Linked DNA regions of Homo sapiens: all the other regions are linked to region 3. The links are contacts of gene promoters, found by promoter capture Hi-C in human tissues and cell types (Jung and others, 2019). All regions are on one chromosome and are shown on one strand. Each heading gives the region's core, a stretch centred on a gene start or on the middle of the fragment in contact. The rest is flanking DNA. Distances are from core to core; before and after follow the strand shown.

Region 1 (4,631 bases), core at 2,013-4,512, 600 kb before region 3:
AGCCTCCAAAGTGCTGAGATTACAGGCGTGAGCCACCATGCCCAGCCCTCATTTTTATTTTTTAGAGTCAGCATCTCCCTCTGTCATCCAGGCTGGAGTGCAGTGGTGCAATCACACCTCACTGCAGCCTTGAACTCCTGGCCTCAAAGAATCCTCCCACCTTGGCCTCCCAAAATGCTGGGGTTCAGACATGAGCCACAGCACCCACTATTTTCTGGGACAATTGGGACAGAGGCTCGATCACAAAGGGTCTCTGGGGAGGAGGAAGGGATGGGTGTCCTTCTGAGACATTTGAGTGTTTACAGCGTGCGTTTACCTTTCACCAGGTGGCCTTGGATTGGTGGGCCACCCTGCGGGCTTATCCTCCTCCCCTTGGATGGTGTCTCCCTGTGTCCCTGTGGGGGCTGTCGTTTACAAGTGGAGCTGGGCTTTCTGGTGCGGTCCAGCCCTGGTCCTGCCTAGCTCACAGTGGGAAGGGGCTGCAGGGAAGATGGGAGGGGGGAAGGAGGCTGGGGACAGGCCTCTTCTGGCCCTGGTGCTCAGAGAATTCACAAGGACCTAGGAAGAAGCCTGGACTTGTTTTGGCCTTTGGACCTCAGGAGAACCTCAGCGGAGGCTGGGAGCCTCGAGGGGGACAGCAGAGGCAGGGGAACGCTGGGGCAGCTCTTGACAGCCCCAGGGAGACCCAGGCAGCTGAGTCCTGAGCAGGGGCGCCAGAGGTCCAACAACACCGGAAAATCAGAAAATGAGGCAAAGCAGCCAGGTGCGGTGGTTCACGCCTGTAATCCCAGCACTTTGGGAGGCCGAGGCTGGCAGATCACTTGAGGTCAGGAGTTCGAGACCAGCCTGGCCAACATAGCGAAACCCCATCTCTACTAAAAATACAAAAATTAGCCGGGTGCAGTGGCGGGTGCCTGTTAGCTCAGCTACTCGGGAGGCTGAGGCAGAAGAATAGCTTGAATCTGAGAGGTGGAGGTTGCAGTGAGCCGAGATCGCGCCACTGCACTCCAACATGGGTGACAGAATAAGACTCTGTCTCAAAACAACAACAACCAAAAAAAAAAAGAGGAAAGAAAATGAGGCAAAGAAACCCTGGGCTATCTCTAAGTCTCTAGTCTTTTGAGCCTGATTCCTTCCCTGGCAGCTGTGTCCTGAATTTGAGGAATGAGCCCCTGGGGGCAGGATTGGCCCAGGAGCCTCAGGCTTATCTCAGAACAGTGGAGCTAAGATGAGAGTCCCTGGGACGGAGCGGGGGCTGCGGTTGCCTGCAGGCTGGAGGAGCATTTTGAGCTGGAAAAGGCACGAAAGCTGGGGGGAAGGCACATATGAGAGAAGGCCTGAAAAGCAAGGCTTCCCACCAATTCACACTCACACTTCCAGGCTGGGCCCCTTTGGTGTCTGCAGCCCTTTCTGCCCCTGTCCCTGTCACTTCCTTAGAAAGGCCTGCCCTGACCACGCTCTGAGATTCTCCAGTAACCTTCTTCCATTTTCTTTTCTTTACTTTTTTTTTTTTTGAGGCAGAGTCTTGCTCTGTCGCCCAGGCTGGAGTGCAGTGGCGTGGAGTAGCTGAGATTACAGGTGCGCGCCACAACAGCCGGCTAATTTTTGTATTTTTAGTAGAGATGGGGTTTCACCATGTTGGCCAGGGTGGCCTAATTTTTGTATTTTTAGTAGAGACAGGATTTCACCATGTTGGCCAGGCTGAACTCCTAACTTCAGGTGATCTGCCTGCCTCGTTCTCCCAAAGTGCTGAGATTACAGGCGTGAGCCACTAGGCCCTGCCATAATGCAATTTTTTTTTTTTTTGAGACGGAGTCTCGCTCTGTCGCCCAGTCTGGAGTGCAGTGGCGCGGTCTCAGCTCACTGCAAGCTCTGCCTCCTGGGTTCACGCCGTTCTCCTGCCTCAGCCTCCCGAGTAGCTGGGACTACAGGCGCCCGCCACCACGCCCGGCTATCTTTTTGTATTTTTAGTAGAGATGAGGTTTCACCGTGTTAGCCAGGATGGTCTTGATCTCCTAACCTCATGATCTGCCCGACTCGGCCTCCCAAAGTGCTGGGATTATAGGCGTGAGCCACCGCGCCCAGCCCATAATGAAATTTTTTTAAGAGACAGGATCTTGCTCTCTCGCCCAGGCTGGAATGCAGTGGAGTGATCATAGTTTTATTTATTTATTTATTTATTTATTTATTTATTTATTTATTTATCTGAGACAGTCTTCTTGCTCTGTCACTTGGGCTGGAGCACAGTGGCCCGATCTTGGCTCACTGCAACCTTCGCCTCCCGGGTTCAAGCGATTCTCCTGCCTCAGCCTCCGGAGTAGCTGGGACTACAGGCGCGTGCCACCATGCCCGGCTAATATTTGTATTTTTAGTAGAGACAGGGTTTCACCACGTTGGTCAGGCTTGGTCTCAAACTCCTGACTTCAGGTGATCTACCTGTTTCAGTCTCCCAAAGTGCTGGGATTACAGGCATGAGCCACCGTGCCCGGCCTAATGTAATATTTTAAAAACTAATGCAAAAGAATTTCTGATGAGCAATATATAAAGACTTTAAATAAGCTGGTCATGGTGGCTTGTGCCTATAGTCCTAGCTACTCAGGAGGCTGAAGTAGGAGGTTCACTTGATCCTGGGAGGTCGAGGCTGCAGTGAGCTATGATGGCACCAGCCTGGGTGACAGAGTAGACTCTATGTTAAAAAAAAGAGGCCAGGTGCGGTGGCTGATGCCTGTAATCCCAACACTTTGGGAGGCTGAGGCAGGAGGATTCTGGGGTCAGGAGTTCGAGGCCACACTGGCCAACATGGGGAAACCCCGTCTCTACTGAAAACACAAAAATTAGCTGGGCATGGTGGTGGGCGCCGGTAATCCCAGCTACTCAGGAGGCTGAGGCAGGAGAATCGCTTGATCCCAGGAGGCAGAAGTTGCAGTGAGCTGAGATCGCGCCATTGTACTCCAGCCTGGGCGACAGAGCGCGACTCCATCTCATAAAGAAAAATATTTTAAAACATTTCTAAATGTTGATGTCTGAGTTTTTTTTGGCGTCCCTGTAAATTTTGTTTTCCAGGCGAGAACTTTACTGGCCTCAACCTATTCCGGGTCCCCAAGTGAATGAAACCTAAGTTTGGCCCCGCCCACAGAGCAGCAGGCCACGCCCCTCGACATATCAGCCCCGCCCCCAGGACGCTAGTCGCGCGGTCGCTCTGTGCCTGCAGACCCCCGCCCCGCGCGCTCCTCGCGTCACTTCCGGGGCGGTGGTGAGAACGAGGCTCACTTCCGTCCGTGGGGGGAGCTGCGGCGGTGGCGGTGCAGGAGGCCGGGCAGGGGTGCGGAGGGACCGACGGACGCACGGGCGGGCGGCCGGGAGCCATGGAGCGCGGCCCTGGGGCCCGGGGGCGCGGGCCGGGGTGGTGAGTGCCGGGCAGGGGCGGGGGCGGGCGCGGCCGCGCGGGGTCCCGGGCCGGGCCTCGAGGGCCTGACAGCCCGGTTGGACGTCCCCGAGACCCCTGCAGTCCCAGGGCTTCCGCGGGTCCTGCCCGAGGAGCCCAGAGCAGGGGCGCGGACCGCGGATGAGCGTCTGTGATTGGGAAAGCCCTGTCCCCATCCATTCAGCCCTCCGGCGTGGGTTGCGCTCCCACCCTCCTGCGGACGCGGCCCTTGCCTTCGGGGAGCACCCGTCCGAGCCGCGGATTCCGCTCTTTTGCCCCGAAACTGCCCCCAGTCCGACAAACGCTTCGGCCTCTCGCCCCCCAAGGCAGCTCCCAGGGGCCCTCCCGAGCCCTGCTTCCCAACCAGCTCCCAGTCGCTGTTTCCCTTGTCAGGCTTCTTCCTGCCACCCTGACTCCTGGGCGGGCTTCCCGGCCTCCGCTCGCGTCCGTTCTCCGGGATGCAGCCCTTCTCCTATGTTGTCCATCGCTTGCTCGGGACTTCTTCGCGGCCCCGCCATTTCTCCCAGGATGAAGTGCAAACTCTCGGGGGCGCGACCTCACCCGTCCCAGGCTCTCTCTTAGGACCCTTCTGCTCACTTCTTCCTCCCAGGGTCTGCTCTAGCCAGGAGCCTGCTCTGTCACCTCGGATTTTGCTCCTGCTTGTCCCTCTGTCCCATCCCCCTGTCACCTGGCCCGTTTGTCTGCCCTCTGATATGGCCGCGCCTCCCCCCAGGCGGGTTTCCCACCCTGACTGGTTGAGTGAGGTGCAGTCACCGTCTCCCATATGTAGGTCATCTTCCAGTATTTTGGCTGCTCGGTTGCTTGCTGGTCCTCAGAACACCTCTAGCTTGCAGAGGGTTGCCCAGTTAAGTGCGTGGGAACGGAATTGGTGGGATTCAGGGTGTCAAGGGTGTGTGCCCAGTGAGTGAGGCGTCTGGGTTTGCACTCCCCAGTCCACGCCCATTAGTGACACTAGGGAGGTTCCAGGTACCTGTGGCTGGAGAGGAGAGGAGACTAGACTTTCCCTTCCCTGTCAAAGCTGGCGGACCTTGGGGATTCTTTTCCTCCTGTGCTTCCTCCTTAATTCTGTGCTGCCTACCACCTGCCCATTCCTTTAGTGAGTGGCAGGTCATGGTCCTGCTCTCATAGAGTTTCTGGTTTGGAGGTGGGGGGAGATCTGGCCAAACGTGTGAAAAATACAAGCTGT
Region 2 (4,316 bases), core at 332-2,831, 580 kb before region 3:
GCTCTGTCCAGCCACGTAGAGTGGGCTTACTGGGGCCCAGGGAGGGCTCAGCTGGCTTAACCAAGCATGGTTGAGCCCAGGCGCAGTGCGGGCGACCCAGGGAACAGTGGTCAGCCTCAGGGCGTCAGCTGGGGTTGCAGGTGGGCGGGGGATGGGGCTAGAGAAGCCCCGAATCGGGTCAGGGCCTCTGTCCATGCCCAACCCAGAGCAGGAGGTCGCCGCAGGCCAAAGCAGCTCCGCCCCCTGGAGGCAGCTCCGGCCACTGCGCAGTCCCCGCCGCCCCGCCGGAGCTGGGAAGGGGCGGGAGCGCGGTCGCGACCGAGGGGGGCCGCCCAGTTTCTGTGCCCCCGCCGCCTTGGGCCTGCGAACTGGGCCATCCGCGTCCCTGGTGTCCCCCCTAATATTTAACAAGTTGGCCTGGACGTCCTCGCGGCCGGGAGGCCCGAATACCTGGCCTCAGTTTTCCCGTCCGAACCCCAAGAATCGATGCCTGGGAATGGAAAGAGAAGCCCCGGACCCCGGTGTCCCAGCAGGGCGGGGAACCTCTGACCCGCTCAGGCGCCCCCAGCCCAGCCCAGCCCTTTGCGTTCGGCCCCCTCTTCCCGTCCCCCTATCCCGACCCTCTGGGACCCAACCGGCCCTCCCCACCCCCAGTGGGGCGCGCTCTAGTAGCTCCGGAACTGGGTGCAAAAAGAGGAACGAACGCAGCCTTGCCCCACCCTCCCGGGCCCCGCCGCGGGCGCGGGATACCGGGTGTCTCGGCCGGGAGGCTCCGAGGGGCTCTGTGAGCGGCGAGGGGGAACCCCAGAGAAGAGGACGAGCAGATGCCTGAGTGCGGGGTCAAAGCAGGGCCCCAGGCCGGGAGAAGAGGGGGGAAGGGTCGCGCACGTGGCCTGGGGGCGGGGCCGGCCGCTTCCGCACCCCTCCAACCCCGGCCACGTGGGGATCGGAGCCCTCCTCCATCGCGAACGGGGGCGCGCCCGGGGCCAGGAGGGAAGCATCCGGGGAGGGGGCGGGCTCCCGCCGGCCGCGCGCCCCGGCGTGGGGTGGGCGCGCCAGCGAGGAGGCGGGGCGCGCTCTGGGAGGGAGGGGCGTGCCGGGATGGGGCGGGGCGCGCTCTCGGAAGGAGGGGCGTGCCGGAGAGGGGGCGGGGTCCTCGGCCTCCCGCCCCGGCTTGAGGGGGTGGTGCTCCGGGAAAGGGTACGGGGGCGCGCGCTGGAGTGGGGCGCGCCGGGAGGGGGCGGGGCTCCCGGCCTTGCACCCTAGCGCGGAGAAGGCGCGCTCCGGGCCTAAGACGCTAGGCGCTGGCGGAGGCCGGAGTGGGCGCGCCGGGGGGCGGGTTCCTCCGGCCCGAGCCCCGCCCCCGGCGGCCGCGCGCGGCTCGGAGAGTGGTGGAGGGCGCGCCGGGCGGGGGGCGTGGCTGCGGCGCCCCGAGGGGGCGTCCTCCGGGCGGGGCGGGCTGTGGCCGCCCCCGCGGGCTCCGGTGCGTCAGGACGCGTCAGGCGGGGCGGGGCAGGCCGAGCGCGGGCGTCGGCGGCGGCGCGCGCCGGGCCTCCTCCTCCTCCTCCTCCGCCTCCCGCACTCGAGCAGCCGCCGCCGGCCGGACGGACGCCGCTCCCGCCGCCTCCGCTCCGCCCGCCGCGCCGCGCGCCCTTGCTCGGCATGTCGGCGGCCGTGGCGTGCGTGGATTACTTCGCCGCCGACGTGCTCATGGCCATCTCTTCGGGCGCCGTGGTGCACCGCGGGCGGCCCGGCCCCGAGGGCGCGGGCCCCGCCGCCGGCCTGGATGTGCGCGCGGCGCGCCGCGAGGCCGCCTCACCCGGGACCCCGGGGCCACCCCCGCCGCCCCCCGCCGCTTCTGGCCCGGGCCCCGGCGCCGCCGCGGCGCCCCACCTGCTGGCCGCCAGCATCCTGGCCGACCTGCGCGGCGGACCCGGAGCCGCCCCGGGGGGCGCCTCGCCCGCCTCCTCCTCCTCAGCCGCCTCGTCCCCGTCCTCGGGCCGCGCCCCCGGCGCCGCGCCCTCCGCCGCCGCCAAGAGCCACCGCTGTCCCTTCCCGGACTGCGCCAAAGCCTACTACAAGTCCTCGCACCTAAAGTCGCACCTGCGGACGCACACAGGTGAGTGCAGCCGCGATCCCGGCCCTTGCGGGGGCGGCCGCCTGAGACCCCTCCCCCGCCAGGACCCCGAAACTGCGTGGCGCGTGGGGGGCGGGGAGGGGGGCGCGCCCGGGCCGCCGCCGCGCCGGCCGGCAGGGCGGGGCCTCGGTGGGTGGGGCGCGCGCGGGGGGCGTGGCGGCCACGCGGTCGGGCGGCGAGCGGATGGCCGCCCCGGCGGCAGTGGCGGGGGCTCCGGGGGCCCAGCGAGGTCTGCGGGCGGGATTGAGACTCCTGGGCAGACCACCTCTCTCCCTTTCTGGGCCTTGTTCCGTTTTTTTTTTTTTCTTTTGCGTTCTGGTCTGGGCGGTGGGCACCGTGGTTGGAGCATCCGGCTCTGGGGTTCTGGGTTCTCCCCCTCCCCCAGCCTCAGTTTCCTTATCTGTGAAAATGGAGGAGGAACCGCGTCGCCGCCGCCGGGGTGGCCGCGCGGATTCTCCCCAGAGGTCGGCAGAGCACCTGGCGTGGGGCCAGGATGGGGGGAGCCCGGCACGTTTTCTCTGCGTTCTCTGTATTTTAACGAGGGGGAGGGCGAGGCTAGGAGCGCGGGTTGGGGCCTGAGTCTGGGCGGGGGAACTTCATAGTATTGGAGGACCCTCGAGGGGCTCGGGTCCACACTGCTGTATTTCCCTGGCGTGTTTGTTCACCCCTACCTGGCGGGCGATTCGGGAAGGTGCGCGTAGTTGGAGCGCTTCGGCTACACCAACGCCCCTCCTAGCGCAGTCCCCGGGGCGGCGAGGGGAACCGGGAGCCTGGTGGGCCTGGCTGTATTTTTTCACTCCGTCCCCTCCTAGGGTTCCACTTTCTGGACTGGGAGTTTGGACTGGGCAACAGGGGACGGTGGGCCTTGATGGCCGGCCCTGGTTTGGGCATTAGAGGTGCTTGTCCCTTCCGGGGAGGGTGGGGGGCTGGGGGAAAGCTGTGCGGCTGCCCTTGGGCTTGGCATTCTGGCCTTGCCACCAAACAGAAGACCTCTACCCGATCTGGGTCTCAATTTTCTCATTTCTATCAAGAGTGCGATGCTGCCTCTATTTCATAGCCATAGCGGTGGCCGCTTTGGGCAGCTGGACACTCCAAGGAGGCTTGGTCCGTGGGCTCGGATTGTAGGGACACGTGGAGCAGCCGAAGGGAAGTGGGCCGTCCAGAGTGGTGGGGCTGAGATGAGCAGGGGCCGCGAATGCCTTGCGGAAGAATTGAGGGTCCATCTTTGGGGTATGGGGAGCCGCGCTGGGACGCCTGAGGGTGGAGAGCAGGAGGGCGGGTGGGGGCGGTGGTGTGTAGCCTGCCGGCCGCCCCCTCTCTGTTCTGCACTCTTTTCACCCCTCGCTCAGTCCCTGTCCTGGTCCCAGGGGCCTGGAGGCTCTGCCCACCTTGAGACACAGACGGGAACCGAGGGCGTCAAGACAGGACTTGGGTGGGGTCTGCGTTTTCTGCGAGGAGCCACACATCCTCGGCGGAGGGGTCCCAGGGTGTTACCTCTTTTTGAGGGCAATGGGGTCCGTGTATCTCCGCGGGGAGGGACATTGGGGGTCTGTGAAGATGGCGAGGCAGCGTTGGGAACAGAAAGGGAGGTGCCTCTCCGGGCGGTGGGCAGGGGTCCAGGAGTGCCCTGGCTTTTTGGGGGTAAGTTGGGCGATCTGAACAGACGGGGCTGAAGTGGGAGCCTGTTGGGAAAGCGACTCCCACCTGTCTACCCAGGTCATTCTTTTCTTGCCAGATGGCGTGGCCTGAGAGCTCCATTTGGGTTTTCTGAGTTTCTGGGTTAAGTGGACGGGATGGCCACCTCCCTGAGTGGCACCCAAGAGGCGCTTCCATAGGCCCCCGGGTATTGGGGCAGCGGTCCCTAAGCCAGCAGGGAGGGGAGGGATGGGTTTGGAGTCCTGGGAAGGCAGTATTGTTATCCCGGGATTGCAGTAAGAAACAGGCCTGGGGGTGCCCAGTCGGGCATCCCCAGGGGTGGATGCAGTTGTGCTGATGGCGCGCCACCGTCTACCCTGTGTGGTGGGGGAGGGCAGGGCGGATCTCCTGGCACCCTCCCCCACCCCTTGAGCCTGCTGACGTCCCATTCCAAAGCCCCCTTTACAGTAACGATTTGGGGACTGGGAGGGCAGTCCCAGGCCCAGGCACCTTGGATTCGGTTTCCAAAGGGTTTTGGATACTT
Region 3 (4,716 bases), core at 539-3,038:
GTCCCTGCCCTCAGCCCCCAGGGCCCGACCCGAGGCCGTTGACCAGGGTGGGGGGTGGGCCTGTGCGTGTTCCCCACCCCCACGGCGGAACACGGGCCGCCCTTGTCCCCGAGCCCGCCTCAAAGAGACCCCTTCATGCAACTTTCCTCCCGGGGACCGAGGACAGCAGGAGACAGAGGGGACAAGGAGGGGTGGCGGGCTCCAGAGGGCGGCTCGGTCGGCACAGGAAGCGGCTGGAAAACGGAGAGAAAGTGACCAGTAGCAGAAGAGTGGGGGGGGGCCGCCTCAGCCCCCGATGTGCAGCTCCGTGTGCCTTAGGAAGACGGTGACACCCTGAGTGCTGGGGCTGACTCCCTCCCGAGCCCCAGGACCCCCAAAGCCCCGGCTCCCACGGGACCCCCAGGGAAGCTGCAGCCTGCTCCTGTCTTGGAGACCCTGGGATGGTTCAGAGGGTTCTACCCACGTCCAGGCCATGGCCAGGCCCCGGCAAACTTTTTTTGCTCTGACCAACGGGGGCTTCTCCTGTCCCCCACGTTGTGCCTGGCCCGGACCTGGTTCAAAACAAGGGGGCCTGCAGCAGGCGGGTGCGGCATCTCGGCCGGGCGTGGCAGGCAGGGCACTGGGCCACCTGGGTCCTGCCCCCAAGTCCCCCCCTTGCATGACCTTGAGCCAGCTCCTCATCCCCTCTGCACCTCAGTTTCCTGGTCAGCGCCCAGAGGACAAGAGAGGACTCCATCCCACTGCCCCTCCCGGGGCTGACCCCCAGCTCCCCGGCCCCTCAGTCTCCTTTCAAAGCTGGGCCCTTGGCCCCCTGGAGTGAAGCAGATGCTGGGTCCTGAGGGAGGGACACTCCAACTTCCCCAAGTTCATCTGGGGACCTGCGGGCAGGACGAACCCAGAGATCCCTCGAGGGCCACAGTCCCCCACCTCCGGTGCCAAGGTCCCCGGGGATCCCCACCAAATGCGAAACCGAGGGGGCTCCCCAGAGAAGCGGGTGGATCAGGGGTCCCCCCAAGTCCAGGCAGGCAACTCAGGGGCTACCCGGCATCGGAGGGTACCAGAGGGGTTCCCCAAACTCCAGGAGACGTCGGCGCTCTGGGGGATGTGGGGCGCGAGTCCCCACAGTCCGTAGGGCAATGGGGCGCCCCGGGGAAGGCAGGCGCGAAAAGGGCGAGTCCCCCAAACTCCGGGGGGCCGGAGCTCCCTGGGGGGCTCCCGCGGGAACCGGGCGCCCGCATCCCGGCGGCGGCGCGCGCGTGGGGGGCGCCCGGAGCTCCGGGGGCGCGAGGCCGGGCGCGGCTTGGGGGGCGTTGGGGGGTCCCCGGGCGCCCCCCGCGCGCGGCCGCGCTCACCTGGGGTTGCTGCGGTTCCAGTAGACGGCGTAGCGGTCCGAGTTGGCGCGGGCGGCGTCCTCGGCGCGCGCGAAGGGCGGCGGCGGCAGCGGTAACAGCAGGAGCAGCAGCGGGAGCAGCGGGCGCTGCGCGGGCGCCATGGCCCCGGTCCGGCCGCCGCGCTCGCTCTCCCGGCCGCCGCCTGCCAGCCTTCTCCGCCTCCTCCGCCGCCGCCGCCGCCGCCGAGCGGGCGGGCGGAGGGCGGGCGGGAGGAGGGCGCGGCGGCGCTTGGAGATCCCGGGCCGCCCCCGCCTCCGCGCGCGCGACCTCGGGCGCCGAGAAGTCAGGCGGCGGCGGGGCGGGGCGCCGGGGTCGCCCCGGGCGCAGGACCCGGCCGCGCGGACTGTCGGAGCGCGGGCCGCCGCCGCCGCACCCGCCGGGGAGGGGCCCGGGCTCCGGCCTTTGTCCCGCCCGAGCGTCGGGAGGGCCGCGGGCGCCCCCTCCCGCCGTGCCCCGGCCGCGCGGGGACTGGGCGGGGGTCTCCAGCCTGCGCCCGCCCCCTGCCCCGGCCCACCCCGTCTCAGGCTCGTCCCCCGGGGCCTGCCCCCAGCGACCCCGATTCTGCGCGCCCCCCGCCGGCATCCGCGTGGCCCGGCCTGGGGTCTCCGAGGGGCGGGGGCGCACCCTGCCTCCCGCGCCCCCACGCGCTCCACCCGGCCCGGCCCTGGGTCCCGGGCCTCTCACCTGCCCGGTTCCAGCGCTATCCGCAGCCTCACCAACCCCGACGCACGCGTCCCAAATCGGGCTCGGCCAACTCCAGTCTCCCTGCGGGGGCCGGGGCAGAGTTTCAGAGGGGCGCTGGCCAAAGTCCAAAGCTGCTCGGGCTGCGACCTCCCTGGGGCCCTCCTGGGAGTCGCCTCTCCGGACCCACGCTGTTCCCTGGGGATGGAGTAAGTCCCTACACCTCAGCCCTAAGGGTGCCGGGAGCATAGTAGGTGGACCGATGTGGAGTGTGAGCAGCTGGGGATGGGATCCAAGAAGCCCAGAGTGAAGCCCCGGCCGACAGCAAATCAGTCTCCACGCACGAATCCTGCAGGCAGGGGAGGGCCGCTGCCCGGGGGCACAGCTTGTGCAAAGACCCGGGGTCTGATCTGTTCAGGGAACGCCGAGTGATTTCTCCTCCTGGTAGGCTGACACAGGTGGGGAACTGGGGGCCTGGCCTCTGCTTTGTCTTTTTTCCAATCTATAGAGACAGTGTCTGGCCATGTTGGCCACGCTGGTCTTGAACTCCTGGGCTCAGGCGATCTTCCCACCTGGGCTTCCCAAAGTGCTAGGATTACAGGCGTGAGCCACTGCACCTGGCCTGCCCTCTGTTTTTGCCCTTATTCATGCCACAGCCTCCCTCACCAGACTCTGAGCTTGTGGAGGGTAGGCTGTCATCAAACGCTGGCTGGACTTTGCTGGCGATGCCCAGATCGTGTTGTACGTCTCTGAATTAGTGTCATTCACCAGGCCCAGTGCAGGAGAGGGAACTGCAGGGCAAGCACCAACAGCCCTTGGACCCGAAGGTCCCTGTGTGAGGCATTACCCAAACTCCTGGCAGGGACCGTGAACCCAGAGATGGGCAAGCTAACCTGTGCCCCAGCAAGGTGGGGTGGGGACCGGACCCACCACCGTCCCACAGCTCTGAGACGTGGTGGGCTCTGTCCTGTGTCTCCTGCGTGCCCTCCTCCCCCGATTCCCCAGCGGGCCACGCGGGCCACACCACCTGACCTTTGTTCAGGCTGGGTCCTGCTGGGAAGTCCTTCCACTTTTTCTTCCTGTTAAAATCTTGCTCTTCCAGAAAGGTCTGTCCCACCCAGTGCTCTAGCGTCCCTGCCAGGACAAGGTTCTCAGTTCTCTCTCCTCCAGGGAGCTCAGCCCGTCTGTTCTGAGCTCCAGGTCTCATCCCCTGACCCCACTACAGACGTCCCAGGTCGAAGGCCCAGGGCTGGCCGGGTGTCTCTTCAGTGGAGGGCGTGAACCTGTCCCAGGTGGTGGCTGAGGCAGGCCCTCTGGACAGGCTCTCTCAGCACCCCTGGAGTGAGGGCCTTGGGTTCTAGCCACACAAGGCTCTGTAGCCCAGACAGGCTGGAGAAGCTTCCCGGGCGGCTCCGTCTGGTGGGGGGCTCTTTTAGGGAGGGGGACGGCCACTCCCGGAGGTGAGCACTTTCGGAGCAGAGTGTGGCGGCTGCACCCAAGCACAGGACAAGGGGCCGTGAGCCTGGGGTCTTGGCGTGCCCGGCCCCAGCATGCCACCTGGCAAAGGTGGGAGTTCTGGAAGCTTCCTTCTACCCTGGGACCAGAAGCCCCCTCCTGCTTCAAGGGATCTCGTGGGTGAGGAGGGGTGGGCCAGGGTCGGGAGGAGGGGGTCTCTTCTCAAACCAGGACTGGGACCTGCACAGGTGGGAGCTGGAAGGGCACCACCTCCACCCAGGCATGGCAGGGCCACTCATTTGCATGCAGGGGCCACCGAGGCGAGAGCCGCCACCACCGCCACCGCTGAACGGATTTGAGCAGAAGCTCCGTTTTCCTTCTGTTCTTGTCTCTCTCAAGGTCAGAGCCCAAGCAGGGACGGGAACAAAGGCGGTGCGTCCCCCATTCAACCTCCCCGCGCCCGCTGGCCGCTCCTAGAGGAAGGACCTGGGGAAGGGAGGGGAGGGCAGGGCGTCTCCGAGGCCTGGCCCTGGGCGAGGCTGCCCCGGCAAACCCCTGCCTGGCAGGGGGGCCACTGTGGGGGTCCAAGAAGCCCTGTTCCCTCCTGGGGCTGGGAGCTGTCCCGGCTTTGGGACGCAGCCGCGGCCGGAGGTCACTCTAGAGTAAGCTTCCTGTGGAGCCAAGGGTCAGAAATCAGGCTCACTCTGGGAACAGGTGTCCGCCAAGGTCAGGGGTTATCCAGGGTCGCCCTCAGTCCCTGGTCTGGAGCCAGTACAGGGCTTGATGGGGTCTGGCCCCGCCCCCTGCTCTGCACTGCTGGGACTGGGGTCTACCCAGACTCAGGAAGGGACTTGTCCAGCCCGTGCCCAGCACCCACTGCCCACATGGCCAGGCCACAGGGCTTGGGATCAGCGTCCCGCAGCCCCTCAGCCTTCAAAGGCCGCGACGCCAGGAGGAAGCTAAAAATATGCGGGGAGAATTTCTCATTACAGAATAAATTGGACCCAATGCGCTGCCTGCCCTGGTGCCGGCAGCCTTCAGAAGCCCCATCTCAGCCAGGCAAGGATCAGGCGGCAGGGGTCACGGGGCGCTGGGGCCCGGGCAGGTCACAGGCTCCACTCAGGGCGGGAGCCCCACCGCTGTCCATCGCCCCCCACCTGCGAAGCACGGAGCTGGGGTCTGCGCTTAG

What was found. Contacts are between HindIII fragments. The study calls those that stand out against the background at their distance.
Region 1: the fragment with the promoter of ABHD17A here is called in contact with the fragment with the promoter of EFNA2 in region 3 in 1 of the 25 tissues and cell types used here (dorsolateral prefrontal cortex).
Region 2: the fragment with the promoter of KLF16 here is called in contact with the fragment with the promoter of EFNA2 in region 3 in 2 of the 25 tissues and cell types used here (dorsolateral prefrontal cortex and lymphoblastoid cells).

Annotation. Positions count from the first base shown.
Region 1 is chr19:1,884,127-1,888,757 of GRCh38, reverse strand. It overlaps ABHD17A (abhydrolase domain containing 17A, depalmitoylase), which reads left to right and starts at 3,262. Exons shown (of 5, transcript NM_001130111.2): 1 at 3,262-3,406. RefSeq lists enhancers at 673-1,178, 1,179-1,683 and a silencer at 3,850-3,997. The HindIII fragment of the contact is 23,112 bases long and covers 1-4,631 here.
Region 2 is chr19:1,860,844-1,865,159 of GRCh38, reverse strand. KLF16 (KLF transcription factor 16) reads left to right here and starts at 1,581. Exons shown (of 2, transcript NM_031918.4): 1 at 1,581-2,119. The coding sequence starts at 1,663. RefSeq lists enhancers at 1-45, 3,153-4,038, silencers at 219-438, 509-1,608, 1,939-2,118, 2,169-2,338 and a promoter at 488-1,692. The HindIII fragment of the contact is 11,768 bases long and covers 547-4,316 here.
Region 3 is chr19:1,282,945-1,287,660 of GRCh38, reverse strand. EFNA2 (ephrin A2) reads right to left here and starts at 1,788. Exons shown (of 4, transcript NM_001405.4): 1 at 1,353-1,788. The coding sequence starts at 1,492. RefSeq lists enhancers at 1,703-2,203, 2,204-2,704, 4,228-4,716. The HindIII fragment of the contact is 32,397 bases long and covers 1-3,924 here.